Linked DNA regions of Homo sapiens: region 1 is linked to region 2. The links are contacts of gene promoters, found by promoter capture Hi-C in blood cells and fetal thymus (Javierre and others, 2016). All regions are on one chromosome and are shown on one strand. Each heading gives the region's core, a stretch centred on a gene start or on the middle of the fragment in contact. The rest is flanking DNA. Distances are from core to core; before and after follow the strand shown. Region 1 overlaps ESF1 (ESF1 nucleolar pre-rRNA processing protein). Region 2 holds the start of TASP1 (taspase 1).

What was found. The method cuts DNA at HindIII sites, captures the fragments that hold promoters and counts their contacts. A CHiCAGO score of 5 or more calls a contact.
Region 1: a contact is called between a fragment that was not itself captured here and the fragment with the promoter of TASP1 in region 2, in 1 of 17 cell types (total B cells). The highest score is 6.1, in total B cells.

The regions. Positions count from the first base shown.
Region 1 is chr20:13,731,065-13,736,192 of GRCh38, forward strand. ESF1 (ESF1 nucleolar pre-rRNA processing protein) reads right to left here. Exons shown (of 14, transcript NM_001276380.2): 10 at 2,657-2,778. Among named protein-coding and RNA genes, the nearest start is that of ESF1, 51 kb to the right of the region's middle. The HindIII fragment of the contact is 4,266 bases long and covers 774-5,039 here.
Region 2 is chr20:13,636,807-13,641,448 of GRCh38, forward strand. It overlaps TASP1 (taspase 1), which reads right to left and starts at 2,126. Exons shown (of 14, transcript NM_017714.3): 1 at 2,088-2,126. RefSeq lists enhancers at 1,483-1,983, 1,597-1,686 and a silencer at 1,877-2,026. The HindIII fragment of the contact is 10,129 bases long and covers 1-3,249 here.

The sequences.
Region 1 (5,128 bases), core at 1,657-4,156, 95 kb after region 2:
TTTGAATGCTGCTGACCAACGAGTCCAGACTTAGCCCAAATGAATGGAAAAAGTAAAAGCACAAACTCGAAGCTCCCAGCAAATGAAAATCAAACTGAATAGCTGCTACAATTCTCAGAATGACTACTTTATTGACCCCATGAGGGCCCACTTGAGACATCTCCAATAAACTGATAGCTTAACACTTGTGGAGTTATTTCATTTATAAGATATTTTACTCACTTTGGGAGGCCGAGGCGGGAGGATCATGAGGTCAGGAGATTGAGACTATCCTGGCTAACATGGTGAAACCCCGCCTCTACTAAAAATACAACAAAATTAGCCGGGTGTGGTGGCGGGCGCCTGTAGTCCCAGCTACTCGGGAGGCTGAGGCAGGAGAATGGTGTGAACCCGGGAGGTGGAGCTTGCAGTGAGCCGAGATCAGGCCACTGGACTCCAGCCTGGGCGACAGAGCGAGACTCGGTCTCAAAAAAAAAAAAAAAAAAAAAAAGATATTTTACTGCCTACTGAGTTTGAAAAGGAGTTCTAGGGAAGAAGAGAGTTAGTTAGCACATCAATGGGAGCAGGGCTCTTACCCCACGTGGTGTTACATATATATTATTTTCATACATGGTTTCTGGCTCATAAGTTCCTTAGCCCTTGCTATAGTCTTTTGTGTTCGGTCTTAAGGGCAGGACTGTACTCTTCCCTCACCTTTCTAATTGTGCATCTTAAGACCTTCCCCAGAGAGGGTCCTGCCCTGTAGTTGTGGGGAAGGAATGCTGGCATCATGAAGCTTCCATAAAAACCCGAGAAACGAGTTCACAGAGCTTCTGGATAGCTGGACACATGGAGGTTCCTGGAGGGTGGAGCGCCCAGGGAGGCATGGAAGCTCCACAGCCCTTCCCCCATACCTTACCCTATTTCCTCTGTATCCTTTGTAATATCCTTTATGATAAACCAGCAAATGTGTGTAAATGTTTCCCTAAGGTCTGTGGCCACTCCAGCAAATTAATTGAACCTAAAGAGGGGGTCGTGGGAACCCCAACTTGAAGCCAGTCAATCAGAAGTTCTGGATGTCCAGACTTCAGACTGGTGTCTGAAAGGGTGGAGGCAGTCTTGGGGACCGAGCCCCCAATCTATGGGATCTGACACTATCTCCAGGTAGTGTTGGAATTGGAGGTCACCCAGCCGGTGTCCACTGGTTAGTGTGTGGAGAAAACTCCCTACCCATTTGGTCACAGAAGTCTTCTTCTGTGTTGATAGTTGTAGTGTGACAGCAGAGGAAAAACAAAGTCAGAAAGAGTTTTTCCCAAAACACCCAATTTCTCCATTTTACTATCCATTTCCACAAACACTGACTACAATAGAAGTATAAAAATTACTCCACTGCATCATTCAGCTTTGCATCTCTCTACCCGTCACAGCACTAAAAGTCAAAGCTATACCAAAAGCATTATAAGAACACACAGTATAGAAACAGTATAGTGGGGAACAGAAGAAAGAACACTGGTCTGAGTAACTGTGGATTCTGGTCTCAGCTTGGCCACTGGTATGCTATGTAACCTCAGACTAATCAGCTAATTTTTTTTACAACTATAAAACAGGGCTGGACTAGAATTAATAATTTTAAGATTCCCCAAGCTGCAAAATTTTGTCATTATCAGTAATAACGCTCTAAGGCACACCACTTCCAGAATGCTGCATTTCAGTCACAAGAGCACTTTTAGTGGCAAAAACCTAAGTGATCTGTACTATTACTGAGGACTCTGGAAAACTCTGGAAAAGATGCTATTCCCTGAACAACATGAGTCAAATCATATTGTCCACAGAAACCACATTAACACAGAGGAAATACTCTTATTTATTTATTTATTTATTTATTTATTTATTTATTTATTGAGACAGAGTCTTGCCCTGTCGCCCAGGCTGGAGTGCAGTGGCACGATCTTGACTCACTGTACCTCTGCCTCCTGGGTTCAAGCGATTCTCCTAATTCAGCCTCCCAAGTAGCTGGGATTACAGGTGCGCGCCACCACATCCACCTAATTTTTGCATTTTTAGTAGAGGCAGGGTTTCGCCATGTTGGCCAAGCTGGTCTTGAATTCCTGACCTCAGGTGATCCACCTGCCTTGGCCTCCCAAAGTGCACGGATTACAGGCATAAGCCACCACACCCAGCCAGGAAATACTCTTGATAAAGGAATTTAATGACAATAAGGTGACAGATGAGCCATAAGATAATACTGTAAGGTGAAAATGCAGGTTGACAGATGGAAAGTATGGCATAATTTCACTCATGTTAAAAACCTCTATGTGCATATATCCTCAAGGAAAAATGTCTGTATGTACCTCTTTTGCTCAGAAACACAGAACAGAATCATACTGCTTATATCTAGATATTAACTATGTGTTTTACGTAGGTGGCATGTAAATGTAAAATGTCAGAATGCAGCAGTTGAAGTGGCTCTGGACTGTGACCAGGCTTTGTACACCATTATGTGGCCATGATGAAAAAACTTTCTGCATTCTCACTTTCCTCTTTCTTAAAATTGGGATGATAACAAGGCCTACTTCAGTGAGTGGTTACATTTTGAGATAATGGATTCCAAGCACCTGGTACCATCTGATATATGGTTGGTATTCAACAAACATTTGGTCATAATTATCAATGATACCTTCTGTTTCCTTTTCAGTCTTTTTTTCTCTTTCTTCTTCTCTAAAAATTGTTCCCAAGGGGTCAGTTTATCCTTTCCTTCCAATTTGTTTTTGACCATCTCTTCTGCACTTTCTTTAAGACCTGAGGAAAAATCCAAATAGTTTAGCTTAAAATGTCTTATTGTCTGGCAATCACTTAAACATATAATTTATAAAGACAAATATAATTTATGCATATTTAATAGAGTAACAAAGATAACATGCAATGGTAAATATCTGTAATACCCCAATATCATACAGTGACATAGGACCAACTTCTATAAAAGTTATTTCCTAATAACAAACAACAATAACCTAACCAAACAAAATCAAAACAAACCAACAAACAAACCTAGCAACTTGATACATGGTCAAGCCACTAAAGAAAAATACTGTATTTAGGCTCAGCCTTCATTTCTCTAAACTTTTCTGTTTTGAGATGCTAAGAAAACTTCTGAACTAATTCTTCTCAGGATACTAATTAATTTTTGTAGCAAAAGACAAGTGGCTTTTCTTGTCTTTAATTATCCCCACTTGCTTCTGTCATCCAAGTGAAAGCCTATGTTCTCTGCAAACTACAGGTTTTGAACAAAAATTGTTTAGTAAGGAATCCCTGTTGAAATATCCCATGAGCAAAGGATTCTCAATCTTTTCTCAAGCATTCTGTGAGGCCTCATAGAAAAGATCAGAAGGACCACCAAGTTCAGATTCCATTTCATCATATGGTTTAGCTCTTTCAATGCTGCTATTTGCTCTTATATTTCATCTCAAAAGGTCTTTCTTCCTATAGTCTGCTGTTCCCGATTCACGTTTCTAGGTATCTTATGCAATAACTAGAGGGGGTAACAAGGTGGGAGAAAAAGCCCTAAGGCTGATCTATCCATTTACAAAGACCCTCATTATTGCCAAAGTAAAGGAAATGTAAATACTGTGCTGTCCCCTTTGATAATAAAGATGTTTTTTATTTTGTAGTAGTGTTTAGAGGACATAGTTGGGTGGATCTTTAAATATTTAGATGACACAAAATTCATTAAAAAAAGAGACATCATCAAACCAGATCATCTTCTCAGATACATTCTAAATTCTAAGAAAGTAGAAACGATACTAAATACAGTTCTCTTTTGTTGATGAGTATATACAGACTGAGAACATTTAGCAATTTGTCTAAGAACATGGAGGTAGGAAGCTGCACAGCTAAATTTTGAATTCCTGGTCATCCTCTCTTCTATTATCAGATACATCTAAAATGCTAGTTTGACCTACAGAATGAAGAAATATATGGCCCAAGAATAAAATCTAAAACTTTGGGCCTCTGGTTCCTTATCTGCAAAATGAATGGTTTAGATCAGAAGTATGCAACCCTTTCCTCCCACGTGCACTGATTTCCCCCCCTCAAAACATTTGGTAAAAGTAAAAATATATAAAACAACTAAAAACACTGCTTTTGGGCCTTGAGCTTCAACCAACAGTTTGAAACAGCTGAAACAGATCTCTAAGACCTTCCTTGGTTTTTAACCCAAGAATTAATCTCCAAATTTCTATAGCTTAGAAAAGTATTAATGTTAACCTATATGCACACTCAAGGTAACACAGATTTGTTTTTATGACATACTGCTGTTAGGATCTCTAACTTACAGGATGCCAAATCAGAACACAATTCTCAATTCAAAAATGTTTCTTATGAGAAAAACATAATTCATTTAGTAAACAGTTTTCAGGAGAAATGTGTAATATAAAACCATGTTTAGATCTCTGATTCAACAGATAAACAGCACCTAAGAAATGTAAACTGGGATGTTCATTTGAGAGAAAGCAGCAAATTCTGATAAAACAAGTTGATTTCAAAGAACAAAATAATTTATGTATTCTGCCCATAGGTCAGCACACAATCAGTTCAGTCTAAAATTTTAAATGTACAGTGTTGTATTATTACATGATGTTTAAATAATACTCTTTGAAGTATTCTACTATAATTTCCTCATGCATTAAGATTGTATTACTTCAAAATACTAAACTAATATAGAAATTTTTTCACCAAAAAAGTTATTTTCTGATTTTGATCCAAGCTCTACTTCTGAATCACCATGATGCTAAGGAGGGTTCTATGTTGTTGTCTCTTAGGTGACTAGAGGACTGGGTTGATGTGTCTCAACCTTTTTTGGAGGGATGGATAGCATGAGATTTTGATAAAAGTTATGGACTCTAACACTGTACTGGAAAAACTTGCATCCAATGTTCAGGAGGTTTATGACTATCCAAAGATCATCTCTGTGTAATGATCCAAGAGCTTAAGGTAAAGAACATTTATAGGAGCTGAAGAGGTCTAGCCTGGGGGAAGATGAAAGTCCATTCCTGTAACTTTGAAGCTTAACAGCATTGACATTTGTAGGTTCTACATCAGGTTTTCTCAATTTCAGTATTATTGTTATTTTGGACCAGATAATTCTTTGTTG
Region 2 (4,642 bases), core at 876-3,375:
TGGATAGCCACATGCAATAGAATGAAACTGAACTCCTACCTCACATCATACAGAAAAATTAACTCTAAATATCCTCCCTATTGCACTTGACAAGTCTTTGAAAAAAAAATTCTAAGTAGATAAAGGACACCATTCAAGAAAGTAAAAGGACAACCCATAAAATGGGAGAAAACGCAAGAAAATATTGCAAATCATGTATCTGGAAAGGGACTTACATTTAGAATATAGAAAGAACTCATACAACTTTAATATAAGACAATTCAATTTAAAAATGGGCAAAGGAATTAAATGGACATTTCTCCAAAGATATACAAAGGGTCAATAAGCACATTAAAAGATGCTCAACATTATTAGCCATCAGGGAAATGCAAATCAACACTACAATGAGCTACCACTTTATAAGCACTAAGACTGCTATAACCAAAAAGAAAGATAAGTGCTCCCAAGGATATGAAAAAATCAGAACCCTTATAACCTGCTGGTGGGAATGTAAAATGGTGCAACCAGTTTGGAAAACATTTGGCACTCACTCAAAAAGTTAAACATAGAGTTACCATATGCCCACCAATTCCACTTCTAGGTATATACTCAAGAGAACTGAAAACGTATGTCCATACAAAAACTTGTACACAGATGTTTATAGCAGAATTATTCAAAATAGCCAAAAAGTAGAAACAACCTAAATGTCCATCGACCGATGATGGTTAAGCAAAATGTGGCATATTCACACAATGGAACATTACCCATCCATAAAACAGAATGAAATACTGATACACAGACATTGATGAACCTTGAAAACATACTAACTGAAAGACACCAGACAAGTGAGGCCATATATTCTATGATTCCATTTATATGAAATGCCAGTATAGGAAAATCCATAGATACAGAAAGTAGATTAGTGGTTACAAGGCCTGGGAGAGAAAGCAGAGAATCTAATGGGGAGTGACTGTCATGAGTATAGGATTTCTTTTGGGGGTGATGAAAATGTTCTGAAAGTAGATAGTGGTGATGGGTGCACAACTTTGCGATATGAGAAAAAGCACTGAAATTTACAATTTTAAAGAATAAATTTTATGGTGCATGAATACCTTAATAAGACTTTCTCAAGAGGAAAAAAGACAATCTATCCGTGCAATGAACACAATGTATGTAACTATGCCTCTTAGTTATAACCGTATTTTACACGCATACATTATGATCACAAATAGGTTAATATGAATAAAATATTAGAAAAAAGATCAAAATGCTGGGTTGGCAGAACTATAGGTGATCTCTTCATAACTATTTCTGCATTTTCCAGATGTTCCTTAGTAAGCACTGCTTTTTGTAAGTGGTGGGGAAAAGTTTTATTTACAACAAAAAAGATAAATTATTAAACTCCTAAGAATATAAGTAAAAATTCCTTCGCTAATAAAGAATAATAATAATTCAGCAATCTAATGGCCCCTAACACACCTTTCCTTCCCCTCCCCTACAGAAGCCAGGAAAGTTGAACTCTCTCCTTCCGGAAACACGATACCCTCGATTTCCAGGACATCTCTAGCTCCTGCTTTCCCCCCCTCCTCTCCAGCTGCTCCATCTTCTCGGTCCTTTCCTCCTCCTCTTCTTCCTCCTCCTCCTCCCCCTGAGTAGTAAGTGCTAACGACCCGCAGGACTCTCATCAGGCCTCTATTACTAAGTAAGGGGCTGCCTTACCCCCAACCCGCCACCCAGGACAAGGCGCACATTCTCGGCTGTCTGCGAACCTCGGACTCTGAGACATCTCCAGCCTGAGACTGCAAAGTGGGTGAAGAACTGCGAGAACTCCCCACATACAGACAGTACTTCCCCGGTGGCCACGAGGACGCCAAGCCGGAGATGAGGCTGGGAAGGGGGACGACGGGGCCGCCTAGAGCGACCAAGACTAGGGAACTAGGGACATCCTGGCCCCCTCCTCTAGCCCCGCCCGGGGCAAGGGGTGTCCTGCGCGCCGCCCCCTCTCGGACCCGGAGAGGACGTCCCAGCTAGCGTACGGGGCCCACACACAGAGGCAGCAGCGCGGAGGCGGCAGCGGCGCGGACAGCGTGGGAAAGAGGGACACTCACCCGCTTCAGCCCCGAGCCTTCACTGCACCGGAAGTAGTCACCCGCCCGTTGCCAGGGTGAGGAAGCGGGGCTGACATCAAGTCTCCCCATTGGTCATTCGGGGTACCACGTGGTCGGAAGCAGCCTCCCACAAGCGGCTCTGACTCCGCCCTCCGCTTCGGAGCGGCTCACCTGGCCTCAGAGGTGCAGCGCTAACTCCACCTGGGGCTTCGTTCTGAGCTGCGCATGCGCTATTGCTTATCTCTACCCACCCCGCCCCTGAATAAGCCCGCAGGATGTGATTATATCTGAGTGGTTGATTGACTAATACTGTGATGAGAAATGAAATTAAACTGACCATCATTTTATCTAGGTGTCGCTTAAGAGTTACTTTCTTTCAATCCTTAGAGCACTGTTAGACGGTAGGGAAAACTAAGGTTCAGCCTGCATTGCTTGTAGGAGTTGGGGCACGAGCCTTGCCCAGGGGGAAGGAGTGTAGGCGGTCTTTTATCGGCTAGGATGTAAGACCGAAACCCAGTCATGGGTTTTGATGACCCATGACTGATGGATTTTCCTTATACTTCCACCAAAACATCACGTCGAACTGAATGTAAAGGCAGAAATGAGAATCTAACTGGCTTCTTTAAGCCAGCTATAGAGGAATTTACACTAATGCAAAAGATAACACTTTTCTTACCACATTTTTTTGTTTTTGGAAAATATTTATTCTTCATTAAAATGTCTTAATTATATTAACACATAATGGTTTATTATTGTTATTTTAAATAACTTTTTAACATTTCAGTTTTTTGTTGGTTTTTTTCTTTTTTTTTTGGAGATGGAGTTTCACTCTGTCAACCAGGCTGGAGTGCAATGGCACGATCTCGGCTCACTGCAACCTCTGCCTCCCGGGCTCAAGCGATTCTCCTGCCTCAGACTCCTGAGTAGCTGGGATTACAGGCGCTCGATACACACCCGACTAATTTTTTGTATTTTTAGTAGAGACGGGTTTTCACCATGTTTGCCATGCTGGTCTCGAACTCCTGACCTCAGGTGATCCTACTGCCTTGGCCTCCCAAAGTTCTGGGATTACTGGCGTGAGCCACCGCACCCAGCCACATTTCAGCTTTGTATTCAATTTTTAATATAGTAAATATTAATAGATGTAACCCACAGAAACAAAAGCTTTGGAGTGTTCTCTACTATTTTGGGGAGTATAAAGGTATGCTGAAACCAAAAAGTTCGAGAACCACTGATACCATTATTATAAATATAACCTATGTGGTTTTATTATGTAACTTGGGGCTTTTTTTCTTTCTCTTCTACCACTGACTTCTTAGGGAGGGGCAAGGGGAAGAAGTTTATTACATAGTAAGAATAACAGTTTATTACATAGCAATAGTAACTGAAACCGATTTTGTTACCTAGAAGTAGGATGGATATTATAACAAAACATAACATAATAACATCATAAAAGTAAAACGTGTGGCACTGGCTTTGGAACTAGGTGAAGCAGCAAGAGCAGGAAGGGATCCAAAGTATTAACAAGAGTCTAAAAGGACTTGAGGAAGCTGCCAATGAGGGCTTAAAGGGAGCTAAGGAAGATGTTATTGGAAGCTGGAGAAAATGGGGCCCTTGTTATATAGTGCCAGAAAGTTTGGCCCAGGCATTAGGAAGCAGACATAAACCATCCCCATTGTGACCTTTCTGAATTCCTCACCCGCAGAATCCATCAGCATAATAAAATAGTTGTTCTTTTGCACCTTTAAAGTGGATTTTTACACAGCAATATTAACTGGAACCAGCAGGAATAAAAGAAAGATGTTAAAGTTTTAAAAAGACATAGACATGCTCCCTTCCATTTCTTAGGCAACATTCTTCCTGGAATTTAACTACATTGTAATAATCATCTCCCAGTGCTGCTCTGTATACTTTTGTCTTGGGTATCACACCCAGATGCCACACAGGCCATCCTCTGGTAGGTGAATACTGCTCAAGTAAAAGTAACAAAATTCTTCGGACCCTTTTTTTTATTATTATTATTGAGGCAGAGTCTCACTCTGTTGCCCAGGCTAGAATGCAGTGGTGCGATCTCAGCTCACTGCAACCTCTGCCTCCCCGGTTCAAGTGATTCTCCTGCCTCAGCCTCCCCAGTGGCTGGGATTACAGGTGCCCGTGACCACGCCCGGCTAATTTTTGTCTTTTTAGTAAAGATGGGGTTTTGTCATGCTGGCCAGGCTGGTCTCGAGCTCCTGACCTTAGGTGATCCACCCATCTCGGCCTCCCAAAGTGCTGGGATTACAGGCATGAACCACCATGCCCAGCCCAGACCCAAGTTTTAACATTTTTAACCTGCATTGGGTACAGTAACAATGAGATCCTTTGAAATATTAATAACGAACAGTTGTAATATCTATTTGATTAACTCAACATGTTAAATTTGAAAGGAAAGTCTATACTAGTAAATCTCCTTCAGAAAAAATCTGGTTGCCTCCCTCTTCCTGTTCCCACCTCTCCCAAACCCGGAAAAGCAGCAAGCTGAGGAATTACTTCCTTTATCTCAAATAATCATGTCT